Regions from separate parts of the Homo sapiens genome. Here region 1 is linked to region 2. Evidence: promoter capture Hi-C in 16 types of primary human blood cells and fetal thymus (Javierre and others, 2016). All regions are on one chromosome and are shown on one strand. The core of a region is centred on a gene start or on the middle of the fragment in contact, and the rest is flanking DNA. Distances in the headings are between cores, read along the strand shown. Region 1 overlaps IL1R2 (interleukin 1 receptor type 2). Region 2 holds the start of SLC9A2 (solute carrier family 9 member A2).

The links. The method cuts DNA at HindIII sites, captures the fragments that hold promoters and counts their contacts. A CHiCAGO score of 5 or more calls a contact.
Region 1: a fragment that was not itself captured here is called in contact with the fragment with the promoter of SLC9A2 in region 2 in 1 of 17 cell types (total CD8 T cells); the score reaches 5.6 in total CD8 T cells.

What each region holds. Positions count from the first base shown.
Region 1 is chr2:102,009,011-102,015,783 of GRCh38, reverse strand. It overlaps IL1R2 (interleukin 1 receptor type 2), which reads right to left. Exons shown (of 9, transcript NM_004633.4): 3 at 5,958-6,222. Among named protein-coding and RNA genes, the nearest start is that of IL1R2, 20 kb to the right of the region's middle. The HindIII fragment of the contact is 5,709 bases long and covers 1,650-6,773 here.
Region 2 is chr2:102,614,407-102,620,842 of GRCh38, reverse strand. SLC9A2 (solute carrier family 9 member A2) reads right to left here and starts at 1,290. Exons shown (of 12, transcript NM_003048.6): 1 at 706-1,290. The coding sequence starts at 994. RefSeq lists a silencer at 1,573-1,682. The HindIII fragment of the contact is 5,203 bases long and covers 151-5,353 here.

The DNA of each region.
Region 1 (6,773 bases), core at 3,255-5,754, 610 kb after region 2:
TAAAATCTGCATCTGCATTTTCTGGATTAGTACAGATGGTTTCCCGACATAAGATGGTTCAACTTAGGATTTTTTGACTTTACAATGCTGCAAACACAACAAGCATTCAATAGAAACCCTACTTCAGTATAGTATTCAATAAATCACATGAGATATTCAACGCTTTATTACAAAATACGTTTTGTGTTAGATGACTTTGCCCAGCTGTAGGCTAATGTAAGCATTCTCAGCCCATTTAAGGAAGACTAGGCTAAGTTGTGATGTTGGGTAAGTTAAGTGTTAAGTGGTAAGTTAAGTGACAACGCTATTTCCAACTTACAATGGGTTTATTGGTATTTACCCCATTGTAAGTCGAGGAACATCTATATTGCAATACTTCTGTCCCTGATCTTTTCGAACACTTGGGGGGCAACAAGTGTCGTAACATAATTGTACAGAAAAAGCATATTCTGTGTTTTTCACAAAGGACTGTCTACAAGCCCGATTCTAATGCCACCAAGGTTCATTAAGAAATCCCCAAGTCCTCTTCAAAAGGGCTTATGCCTTCCAGGTTCTGGAGCTCCTTGAGCCCAGCCCCCGCATACTCCAACTTCATGATCCAGGAAACCATATCCACATGCAGAGATTGTTTCCCAAGAGCCATTGTTTCCGTAAAAAGGAATATTCCCTTTGCTCCTTTGGGGAATGATTTACCAACTGAAGTCTAGTTTTAGAAAACTGCTGGAAACTTAGTGTAAGACCCATAAAAGATTTTTGTAATACTGCATGGGGAAATTAACTTGGTAAGTTTGCTTTATTATTATATGATTATTATTATTATTATTATTATTATTATTTTACTAGCCTAATCATTATTTCACTGCCATAATTCTATCAAGACCTTAGAGCTGGAAAAAGGGAAGAGGAAAACCTTGCTGGAAACTTGTGGGAAATGGATGGAGGACAGAAAACAGTAATTAAAACTACTCTTTTAAGTAGAAAAATATAAAAATATAATTATCTCAGCTAAATTTCTGGCTACCTAAAACACATGAGACTTTGACAGAGACAATAAGGACGAGTTTTACATATAGGGGTAAAAATTACTTGCACAGCAAAATCTAAACCATCCATATCCAAACAAGTAACAAAATGTAAAAAAAAGGTGAAAGAAATGTGATAAAAGCTTACCACTTGAAAGTAAGAAGAATTAATTTAAATATATGAAGCCAATATCTGTTTATATTTAGCTTAAAAAGGGAAAATAGATGAACAAATATTATATTTTGTGCATAAAGAAATACAGAATGTTAACTCTCACCTTGAAAAATGCGTAATGTCACTACATGTTGAATAAAGGCAACTGAGGACAAATCTAAAGACCTGGGCCTACTTGAGTAACAGTCACACAGCAGGTAGCCAGCAGCGAGTAGATGCAGGCCAGACCCTGTGCTGTGTACTTTGCACACGTTATTTCACTTATAGTCCAGCCCCCATGAAGTAGGAATTACTATTATATCATTTTTATATGAAAAAGGTAGGTGTACAGAAATTAAGTGGGCTGTACAGCTACAAAGAGGTCAAACCAAAATGGGAAGCCCAGCAAGGCTCTGGGAAAACCCATAAATCTATCTTCAGTACCCATAAGTACTATCTTCAGAAACCAAGCTTAGTAGACATATTGAAAGTTACAAGGCTGTTCACATTATTGATCTGGTAATTCCCCTTGAGCAAGAAACTTCATAAAAATAACTCAAAAGAAAGAGAAGGGTGAGGGGCAATTTGATCACCACTTGCACTCCCCATGTAGTGTGGCACCCCCATGGCAAAGGCGTGATAGTCATTCGTAGTGCTGCTCACCAAATAGGCCCAGTTCTCCCTATTCTGAGCACATGGTGTATCACATGTCCTCGTCCCCACTGTGGGGACTCTTCCTAGCTCATGAGTTATATGTGTGGCCCTTCTACATGAAAGTTGTAACAGCCATGAGAGACCCTCCAAAGCAGGCTTCCTGCTCTAGCAACCAACCAATAACATTTGAAATAGTGACTGTGACTGCTCCTTCAGCCTAAGTCCCTAACTGTCTGCAAACCCACAATGGACCTGTTGCATGTGTAAGAAATAAGCCCTTGTTATTTTAAGCCACTGAGATTTAGGAGCTATTTGTTACAGCAGCATAACCTTGACTGCCTACTCTTTCTCTTTTTTTTTTTTTTTCTTTTTCTTTTCCTTCTTTTCTTTTCTTTCTTTCCTTTTTTTTTTTTTTTTTTTTTTTTTTTTGCAGTGATAGAAAGTAAGGCATTTATTTGCAGAGCACCAAGCAAGGAGGCCCAGGCAGCTACTGCTCAAATCTTGGCCTCTCTGATGGCTTGCATCCTTGCCTACTCTGACTCACCACGTGGTTCTAGATCACAAGGTCTTAAACAATCATGAGAACAGGGCAGTCTCTTGCCTCATGACTATCAACGCTAAAGAGTATTATGGCAACTGCTGGTGATTCTCACTCAATTAGAATCCCAATCTTACAGTTGACAAAGAGTATTAAAGGTCAGCCAGGTAAACCTTCCCATCATGCAAAGAAAGTTTGACATACACTGGGATTTCCACTGCCCCCTCAATCTCAGCTTTTTTTTTCCTACAAAAATTGATCATAAAAGCAAACTTTAAGACAAACAGAACTCAGCTCACATCTCCCTGATTTTTGCACAGTCTCACTTTCAGTAGTCATGAGGATTGCCTTTTGGGAAGGAGAGGGAATTTTTATGTATATATTGACCACCTACCATGGCAGACCCCACGCTAGTTCCTTCACATTCTGTGATCTCACATAACCCTCTCAACAAACTTCTTTACAGGAAAACTAACACCCATAAAAGTCAAGTGATAAGCCCAAGGTCCCACCAGATAGGAAATGAGAGAGCTAAGATTCCCATCTTTCTTTCTGACTTCAGGTTTCATGTTTTCTTACTATGCTATGAAGTTTTCCTAGTAGTACTCCTTAGAGAAAATTAGAATTTTTACTGTGGAAAAGAAAGAAGAAATATGCATTTATAGCTATTGTAAAACCAGGCATCCACATTTTCCTAGCATAAGAATAGAAGATGGTTTGCCTGCTTCTTAGGCAAGGTTCATTGACAGGATTAAACCTGTCCCTAAATTGCTTATAGTTGGGGCTAGACATATGGATGGTAGTGTCAAGCTGGGTTTAATTTGAAAAGATTCTTAATTTCACACATGCACGCACATGCACACACACACACACACACAGAGGGCACCCTCTACCTCATATCTCCTCCCACCCCCCACATACCCTGCCACACACACACCCAGCCTAGGACTGGGGATGACGTGGTCTGAAATTTTTCCATTCACCAGTACTTCCACTGTGCTAAGAATCTCACTTCTCCGGTTCTTTTTCTAAATGTACATATTCCTGGGTACAGTCCTTCTTAAGTCAAATGAGTTTATGAAATCTGGAGACTCTGAAGCCAGCTGGTGGAAGGAGCAAGCAGTGCCTTTGGAGGAACAGAAGAAGCAGCTGAAGAGAGAGGCCAAAACACTAGTTCCCAATCAAGCCAAAGGTTGTCTTAGTTCAGAAGAACAAAGCCAAGGAAGTTTTTATTGGAGGAACAGATGAAGCAGCTGAAGAGAGAGGCCAAAACACTAGTTCCCAATCAAGCTGAGGGTTGTCCTAGTTCAGAAGAACGAAGCCAAGAAACTTTTTAAGATCACCAACACTAGGCCTAAAACTTCATCCATCAAGAAGGAGTAGGACATGTCAAGACCATTCAATGGGGAAAGGACAGTCTTTTCAGCAAATAGTACTGGAGAAAATGGATATCCACATGCAAAAGAATGAAGCAGGACCCTTACCTAACACCATATACAAAAATTAACTCAAAATGGATCAAAAAGCAAAAGAGCTAAAACTATAAAATTCTTAGAAGAAAACAAAGGGGAAAACCTTCATGACATTGGATTGGGCAATGATTTCTTAACACTAAAAGCACAGGCAACAAAAGAAAAAAATAGATAAACTGGACTTGATCAAAATTAAAACCTTTTGTGTAACAAATGACACTATGAACAGAATGAATATGCAACTTAGAGAACAGGAGAAAATATTTCTAACTATATATCTGATAAGGCAAGGGGTTAATAACCAGGAAATGTAAAGAACTCCTACAACTCAACAACAACAGCAAAATGCAGTTTTTAAAATGGGCAAAGGACTTAGAGTCCATAAAGGAGATATGTCTGTGTCTCCAGCGAAGATGCACAGATGGTTAATAAGCACACAAAAAGATGCTCAGCATCGCTAATCATTAGGAACGTGGAAATCAAAGCCACAATGAGAGACCCCTTCACACCCATTAGGATGATTATTATCAAAAATAATAGAAAATAACATGTGTTGGTGAGTATGTAGAGAAATTGAGTGTCGGCACTGTTGTTGGGAATGAAAAATGGTACAGCCACTATGGAAAACAGTATGATAGTTCCTCAAAATTAAATATAGAATTAACAGATGATCCAGCAGTTCCTCTTTGGGGTCTATACCCAGAAGAACTGAAAGCAGAGATTTGAACAGATATCTTCACATCCATGTTCATATTGGATTCACAATAGCTGAAAGGAGGAAGCAAGTCAAGTGTCCCTGGATGGATAAATAGATAAACAAAATGTGGTACATACATAAAACGGAATAATAATATTCCACCTCATAAAGGAAGGAAACTCTGACTCATGCTACAACATGAACGAACCTTGAAAACACTATGCTAAGTGAAATAATTCAGTCACAGAAAGACTGATTTCACTTAAACGATTTAAACGAGGTACCTAGAGTCGTCAAAATCATAGAGTCGGAAAGTACAGTGGTGGTTGCCTGAGGCTGGAGGGAAGAAGAGAGGGGAGTTATTGTTTAATGGGTTCAGAGTTTCAGTTTGTGAGGATGAAAAACTCCTAAAGATGGATAATGGTGATGGTGCCACTGATCTGTACACTAAAAACTGTTTAAGATGATAAATTTTTTGTTATGTGTATTTTTTCTACAGTTAAAGGGGAAGAAAGCAACAGGACAAAGAGGGAGGAGGACTGGACCCAGGGTCAGGAGACTCGGGCTCCAGAGTCAGCTCTACCACGCACCACCTGGGGAACTTTCCAAGCCAGCTTGGTTCCCTCATCCTTACAACGAGCAGTTGGACTAATTTTTTTTTTTTTTTTTTTTAGACAGAGTCTCGCTCAGTCGCCCAGCCTGGAGCGCAGTGGCTCGATCTCCGCTCACTGCAAGCTCCATCTCCTGGGTTCACGCCATTCTCCTGCCTCAGCCTCCTGAGTAGCTGGGACTACAGGCGCCCGCCACCATGCCCAGCTAATTTTTTTGTATTTTTTTAGTAGAGACGGGGTTTCACTGTGTTAGCCAGGATGGTCGTGATCTCCTGACCTCGTGATCCACCCTCTTCGGCCGCCCAAAGTGTTGGACTAATTTAATCCTAAGGTCTCACCCAGCTCTAAAATCCTATTCAGAGTAAAATCCTATTCTATGTCTATTTCTTGGTTCCTTACCATGTGGCTTCAACAGTGAACAACATAGACCAAGTCCCTGCCCTTGCAGAGTTTACATTCTAATGGGTAGACAAACATTAAATACAGTAGCGCACACAAATGTGTCAGATGGGAAAATCTTATCGCAAGGAAACTACAGCAGGGTAAGGAGAGAGTGACAGAGGGCGGTGTCAGCTAAAATGGCTAGGGACGTTGTCTCCAAAGAGGTGGCATTTGAGCAAAGACTAAATGGAGACAGAATGAGACTGTAGGGTTGGGGGGGGTGTCAGGAACAGCAAACGGGATGCAATGTGGATTCACTGGATTTGTATTTTGTACACTGGATTCTGAGATCCGGATCATGACTGAAGACCCTCACAAGCCTCCATCCTGCCAGGATCCCCTCCCCAGCCCCGCACAGGGAGACTTACCTAGTAGTGCAGACGTAGGTGCCAGAGTCCTCCTGCAAGGCTGGCAGAAGCCACAGAGCACCGTCCTGGGCCCACATCCGTGTCTCTTCTTCTCCTGGGACCGTCCTAGCAGAGTCATTTTTATGCCATGTCAGGTTGATGCGGGGGCTGACAGAGGCCCACAACCAGTAGGGCACCTGGGGGCACCTCAGGGCTACAGGCTCCCCTTCCAGCCTGAACTCCCGCTTGTAATGCCTCCCACGAAACCGGCAGCTTCTGGCAGCCCCTGAAGGACAGAGAGCCCATGGTCAGGCTTTGGGTCCAAAACTTGCTCAGATCATAAAACCTCCCTGCACCTGGGACTGATCCTGATTCTGGCAGGGAAACCTGGAGCACATTTGAGAAAGATGTCATTTGTCCCTAACAAAAAGACCTACACCCTGGGGTACTATTAAACTCCCTCCCTACCCCGTTATTATACTTTCAAAATTTCCAAATAACAAGTTCAGTGCTACTATCCATTCCAACTTATGTTTTGTGAAGAAAGTTAAATCAGGTTTCTACGGTGACAAAAAATTAAAGATTAAAAACTATGGCCATAGTTTTCACTGGCTGATTTCTCATCATTAAAAGTAAATCTGAGCTGAGTTTAGATGGTAAAAGTTTAGTTCTGGCACGTCGTATGGTTAAACTCCAAAGGCAACTTTGTTAAGGGCAAACACGTCACTTCTTCAGTTTGCTCTTTGACAAGCACATTCGCACCATTCTTTCCTTTTCTTTTCTTTTTTCTTTTTTTTAATTTTTCCTTTTTTATTTTTTTGAGACAGGGTCTCACTC
Region 2 (6,436 bases), core at 41-2,540:
GATCTTGAACTCCTGGCCTCAAGGGATCCTCACGTCTGGGCCTCCCAGTGTGCTGGGATTACAGGCTGGGCCATTGTCCTGGGCCCAGAGTTAATTATTTTTAAATATGCATCTCACCTCACTGGCCTCAGCCACCCCGAAGCAAAAGCTTCCTGGAGAGTGACAGCCTCAACCCAATAGAGGGAGGAGAAAGGGCGTTCCTATTGCAGCTGCAAGCACTCAGGTGTCCCTGGTCCCCTTCCATGCACCTCATTAGTCAGGCGCACAGCAGGGTCTGTGTCACTGCCAAGGCGCCTCTCTCCTGTAGCATCCAGGGTTTTAACCACATTATGCATAGCTCCGGGGTTCGTCGGCACCTCTCTCCCTGCAGGTGAGACTGGTACACTTCAATAAACAGATCTCACTCAACTTAAGCAGAGAGCTGACAAACTTGGCGTTCCGTGCGGCAGAAGTAAGCAGCAATCGCTGAGTTTGTAGAACTTACACTTGGGGCCATTTCAAGGCCAATGTTCCCTTAAGAACCAAAACGCGAAACTGCTCTTCCAAGGGTCCTTTTCAACCAGAAGAAGCTGCTCCATCTGTCGTCCCTGCCCTGATTCAAGATGAGGCGGTCACTATCTAGAGGTCAGCTGGCTGACCCGGTCACCCTCCAGGTGTCCCCCCGAGATCGCCCCCTCCCATTCCCCACAAGTCCAGTTCGCTCACCAATCTTGGCCAGGGAGGCCAGCAGGATCCAAAGGGTGATCTCGAAGGGGATCTGCACGTGGGGGTAATCCAGCGTAAACACAGGCAGCCGGCTCTCCTCGAACAGCGTCGTTCCGGGAGCCACCACGCTCGCAGGGCTAGGCGGGCTGGAACTGGTGCCCATGGCCCTCGGCGCGTTCAGCAAGGTCTCCGCCAGGGCGCCCACGGGCCCCGCCACCTGCAGGAGCAGCAGCAACAGCATCGGAGGCAGTGGCGCCCGCAGGCTCCTCCAGTTGCCCAGTGGTTCCATGGGTGCCGCCGGTTGCCGCCAAGGGGACCGGCGGTTGGCCCTCCGAGCGCTCAACGCATCGCGCCCGGGCTGCTCAGCCCGCTCCGCCCTGCCCCGTGCAGGGCAGGGCAGCGACAGCCACCCGCCGCTGCTGCGGCACCGGGTCTCTGCAACCAGAGGGCTAGGTCCTCGCTGCGAGCAGGCGCACTGCCTGGCGAGGCACGTGCAGGGCGACGAGAGGCCGCTGCGCGTACCCTCAGCAGCCCTCAGCCGCCCTCCGCCGCCGGCCGCCTGCCCATGCCGGTGCGCTGCTCTCCAGCCGCAGCGGCAGGCCCTGCCCAGGGCGGCCCGCGGGCGGGGGCGGGGCGGGCGCGGCGCCCAAGCCGCAGGGCAGGAGGACAAGGGGACCTGGCCGGCACACCGCGCACCTGCCCGAGCCCGCGGGGAACGCGGGGCCCCAGTGACCGCGGGGGCGATGGCTGCCCTCCCTTCGCGCAGGCACCGCGCGCCAAGACCCGCCACCCCCAGAGCCAGCGAACTGTGGGTGGAATCGCCGCAACGGGCGCATGGTGGCCGGAGCTGTCTCCGCCCCGGAGGCAGCGTCGGACGTCCATCCAGTGAAGGAACCAGCGCGACCCACGAGTCGCGCCCTTCCCTCCTCCCCCGCCCCCGCAGGCTCCTCCAAGGGGACACCCCGGTGCGCTGGGCGCGCGGGGAGGCGCCACAGGCTCGCGGTCCGGAGGAGAAGCCCGGGCCGGTGGAGGAGGAGTGCTGTCACCCCAGCCTGGCGCTGCGGAGGCCAAGACAAGGCATGGGATTCTCTGGACGTACAGAAAGTTTAGGAAAGCCAAATTTTGTTTCCTTTCCGAGAGTTATCAACTCGCGCACAAGGTGCTCTGAACAGGGAAACTCCCTGCGCGGAACTCAGTGTTCCCACGCCCCCACGGAATCGGAATCCTGTTCTCTCCTCTTGCCACATTGTGCTGCTTTCACCCATTTGCTACACTGTCGCTGCCACTTTTCTTCTCCCTCCCCCAGCTCACGTAAAAAAAACCAAAACATCTTTCTCCGCTTTTAGGCTTAGAGGTGTACATGTCCAAGAGCATAAGAAATATAATTATTTCATGGAAAACCAGTGATTTGCCTCGCTCAGATTGACTTGCTCCGCTAATTACAGGACAGGCTGTGGTCAGGAAAAGAAAGGAAGCGTGATTCTTCTTCTGGATCTAAAAGGGCTTTCTCATGCAGAGCCAACCTTTCCTGTCCTTCAGAGCGCCTCCTTCACTGGTTGCGATCTCACTGTTTGAGCATCTTTATCGCCAGAAACCGAAATGAGCACAAAGGGGACTAGTTGCCATTCAATTAACTGAAAGTTTTCCCTTTGATATTTATGAAATAAAATCCTTCTCTTTTCTTAATCTTTGATGTGTCAAAACACGTGGCTTCTACTATTAAACAAACACCAGGCAGTTCGACCTTCAAAGCCGTTTTTTTTTTTTTTTTCTTTCAAAGTTCTAACATAGAAAATCAGTGAGATGTCAGCAGAGGGTACAAGAAAAAAAAATCCTCCACCTGCATAGAAGAAAATAAGGAACAGTCCTCTTTGGGTCTTCAAAGTAATGGAGGGACAAGTCCAGGCTAAAAAGAGAGAAGAATTCTGGGAGATGTTACAGAGCACTACTTCATTTGATATTTCACAAAGCATCAGTTTTTCAAAAGCGCTACAGAATTGAAACTAAAGATATTATCTTGAGAAGAATCATTGGGCATCCAAAACTCAGCCTCCCCTTCTCCTTTCACTGGAAACGTTTATTAAAGGTATGTGCCTAACATACCCCTGTGAAAAGGCAGCAAATAAGAGATTTTTAAATTTTTTGAGTATCTGTCTCTACATGGGAAGCTCAATACAAGGCACTTTACTTGCATTTTTTTGTCAATCGTAAAAATCCAAAGAGGCAGATATTTTTTACCCATTTTATAAGTGAAGAAATATAGTGTAGAAATGTGTAAAAATAAACAAATAGACTTAATCAAGTTTACATATTAAGTAAGTGTCTGGATGGAATTCACACCCAGGCCTGCCCAGGCTAACACTGGTATCATCTCACCCTCTACCCCATGACTAGTTGCCCATAAACAGCACGCTATATTCTCAGCTACTTTAAAATAAGCAGTGGAGAATATTACAGGGATTGTTCAAAAAAGTTACAGCAGGATAAAGTTTTGGTAAGTGAATCAGGCAGTTCTACAAACTTAGTGACATAGTAATAGGGAGAGGGCACATTTAGACAATACTTTCTAGGAGTTTGTCACACAACACTTTTAAGAATAATTGTGTATCATGAACAAGAAAATGAATGACAAATCTGTTTCCGGGCCCTCACTGCCTGTAAACCTTATGTGGTATCACTTCAACTTTATACATCTATGCTACTGCAGTTAAAGGCTATCCACTTTTTTTTACATTTGAAAAAAAAGTCGTTTTATTTATTCTTGTAAATGGGAGGCGAAGAAATTAGTCTAAAAAGACATTCTTTTCATCTTTCCCTTAAAGCAAATTTAAAAAGAGTTAAATTATGCCCCTATGCTGAGAGCGACTTGGCCTGGCTATTTCTTCAAAGTGCCCTCTGACTAGGAGCTCAGCCGTGAAAGTGATAACACCACCCATGGGATGACTGAAGCAAGAAGCGAAACGTGTGTACACATTTAAAATCCTTTAGTGGTTTCTTAGCGACCTTTGGACGTCTCACCTGGTAGCTGAATTTCTGGACTAATTGGGGGGTCTTCTTTTATGCCCTTTGATCTCCCATAACTTTTCAGCACTTAATCATTTTGCTTTTCTCCCACTGAACATCTCTGTGAAGGTATTGGTCTGTTTAACTCATTCTTTTATCTTTAGCTCCTAGCATATTGCCCGGAGACAGTGAGTACCCGCTAAATATGTGTTGGACGAATAAATGTATGAATTGACGGTGAAATCAACAACTCTCACACACTACGGATCTGAGCTGCAGGGCTTTCTCACAGTTAGGCCAGTTGCAGGATGGACATGAATTCTCCTAGTTTTACATGAAATGTTTTCTCCAGTGATCCCTCATTCACATTTTGGCATCTCTCATGTCTTTTTTCCCCCTTCTACCCAAATGATGTGTGAATTTAATCACATTACAAGATTTCTAAATATTTTTAGAAATTATAGTTACCTGATTTCAGATTGACTTTCACATAGCATAGAAATATTTACTAGGAATTTATGAACCTTCTAAGGCAAATGCGTACTTTTCTCTGCACTTTGCTCAAGAGTGGTCCATTAGAATATTACTGTATTTAATGGAATACTTTAATAGGAGTAACTCTCCTGAATTATACAGCCATCAAGCAAGAGAGTAGATCTGGCATCACTAGGAATCACAAAGGATTTTGGAATACTTCCTGGTACAAGGGAAAGAAACTAGTAAGATAAAGCTGAGTTAGCTTAAGAGGACATGCACCTTAAAATATAAAACTGTGAGCTGTGCAGAGGAGATTAGGATCCTGACCTAACCCAGGACTGATCTTAAATCCCCCGCTCCTGCACTGGAAACTTCAGGAGGAACTGAGGTTTAACTTTGTGTCTCTTGCCATACAGAACTTAGAGCTTACTGAAGAGTTGTAGAATGTTGAAACCTCAGGAACTTCTGTATGAAGGAGCAGGTAGAGGTCTCTGCATGCCAGCAAACATATTCTTCACAACTCCAAAAGGTTTAATGTGCTATCTGTCTTTTTCAGATGCAGAGTGGAAGCTGACACAGAGGAAGGGAACTGCTCATTAGTGGCAGTAGCTCTTCTGCACCACAGTGCGGCGCCAGAGGTTAGCACCTCCCTTAGAAGCTAGCATGCAGGAGCAATGTATGCTCTATCAAGAGACAGAGACCAGGGAACGGCTCCATCCTCAGATACCAGTGTAATAGTCGCAATAGTTACTAATAATAGTTAGATATTAATATGTCATACTATTCTTTGCACATTTTTATAATATTCATATTTTATATTCCCCTTTCTTTAAAATGTGCATTGCACAACCACTAGCCATTAGTTGTGTAATATATCAATTGAGAATCTTTGCCTATAAAAAGTTGACTCTCATAATACTGTTGATTTGGTTATTTTATTATTATATTTGAAAGTTCTCAATGTTTAAACTACTTTCTTTTTTTAAGAGACTTAATTCTCAGCAAAAATCTAAGGACTTCTTCTTAGAGAGCAGTCATGCAGTGGCGTGAACATTTTACTGATGCCCACAGAATTAATACTTTCCTCTCTTTCTTTTTGGCCAAATATATTTGTTTCAGCAGAGAAATGTTTTGCTTTATGAAAAGGTACTTTCTGCAAATTCAAGCTTATAAATAATCTTGGTACTTTTTTGTTGTTGTTTGGTTTTGTAGAGATGGAGTCTCACTGTGTTGCCCAGGCTGGCCTCAAACTCCTAATAATTCCTGGACTCAAGTGATCCTTCCTTCTCAGCCTCCTAAGTAGTTGGGACTAGAGGCACACCACCACACCCAGCTAACAGTGCTACTTTTAATGTTGAATCCTCCTAATATATTTAAGCTAAGAGTCAGCTTTCAGATATCCAACCACCAAGTTTTTCAGTGCTTTGGTTTTCCTCCATAAAATAAGGGACTTGGGGACAAGTAACTTTATGTTTCTTTATAAAAGGTTTTAAAAATTTAAGATATTAATCTAAAACATCCGTGTAGAATGGACACACACCTACATCCTGCTCCAGATACTGTGATGTCACATGTGGGAAGAGAGACTCCCTGTCCTTTCAACTCTGTCGTGTATCATCTGAACTCTGACATGCAATGCAATCAGAAAGCAAAAACTGAACTGATCTTGCAGGGAGAAAAACTGAGGTCTGTCTTGGGTACTGATGCTTATATACCCTACTTCTTAGGGGAAAGAGAGATACAGAAATAAGGATGATTTTAGAGGGATAGTAAATGACTTTTACAGTTCCCATAGGAACTTCTAAATAGAATTCTGTTGTTACATATAAGGCACACTCACTCATCGATTCAACAAATATTTGTAGAGTATATATAGTTGCTAGGTACCTGCAACTAAGCCTCTTTGTACCTTTGGGGACCCAATAAATGAGAGTGCTTCAAGGGATCATGGCAAAGATTTTTCTAGAAATAGGAGTGGGAAATAAGGACTACTTTTGCAAATGTATATTTTGTTTACTATTCTAGAATTTACTTAACTGCTAACATACTGGAAATAGAAATCTGACCATTTCCAGTCTTGGAAATAGAGAAAGCAGAGTCAAAAATGCCTATCTTCAAAAAATGCCAGTCTTCACTCAAGCACCTTTCTCCACTTTCCACTGCTCTACGATCTTTAGTAATTTCCTAAGGCTTTTGAGTTTCCATTTATCCAACCAAAGTTCACTCTAAAAAACATGTTTGTGTAGATCTT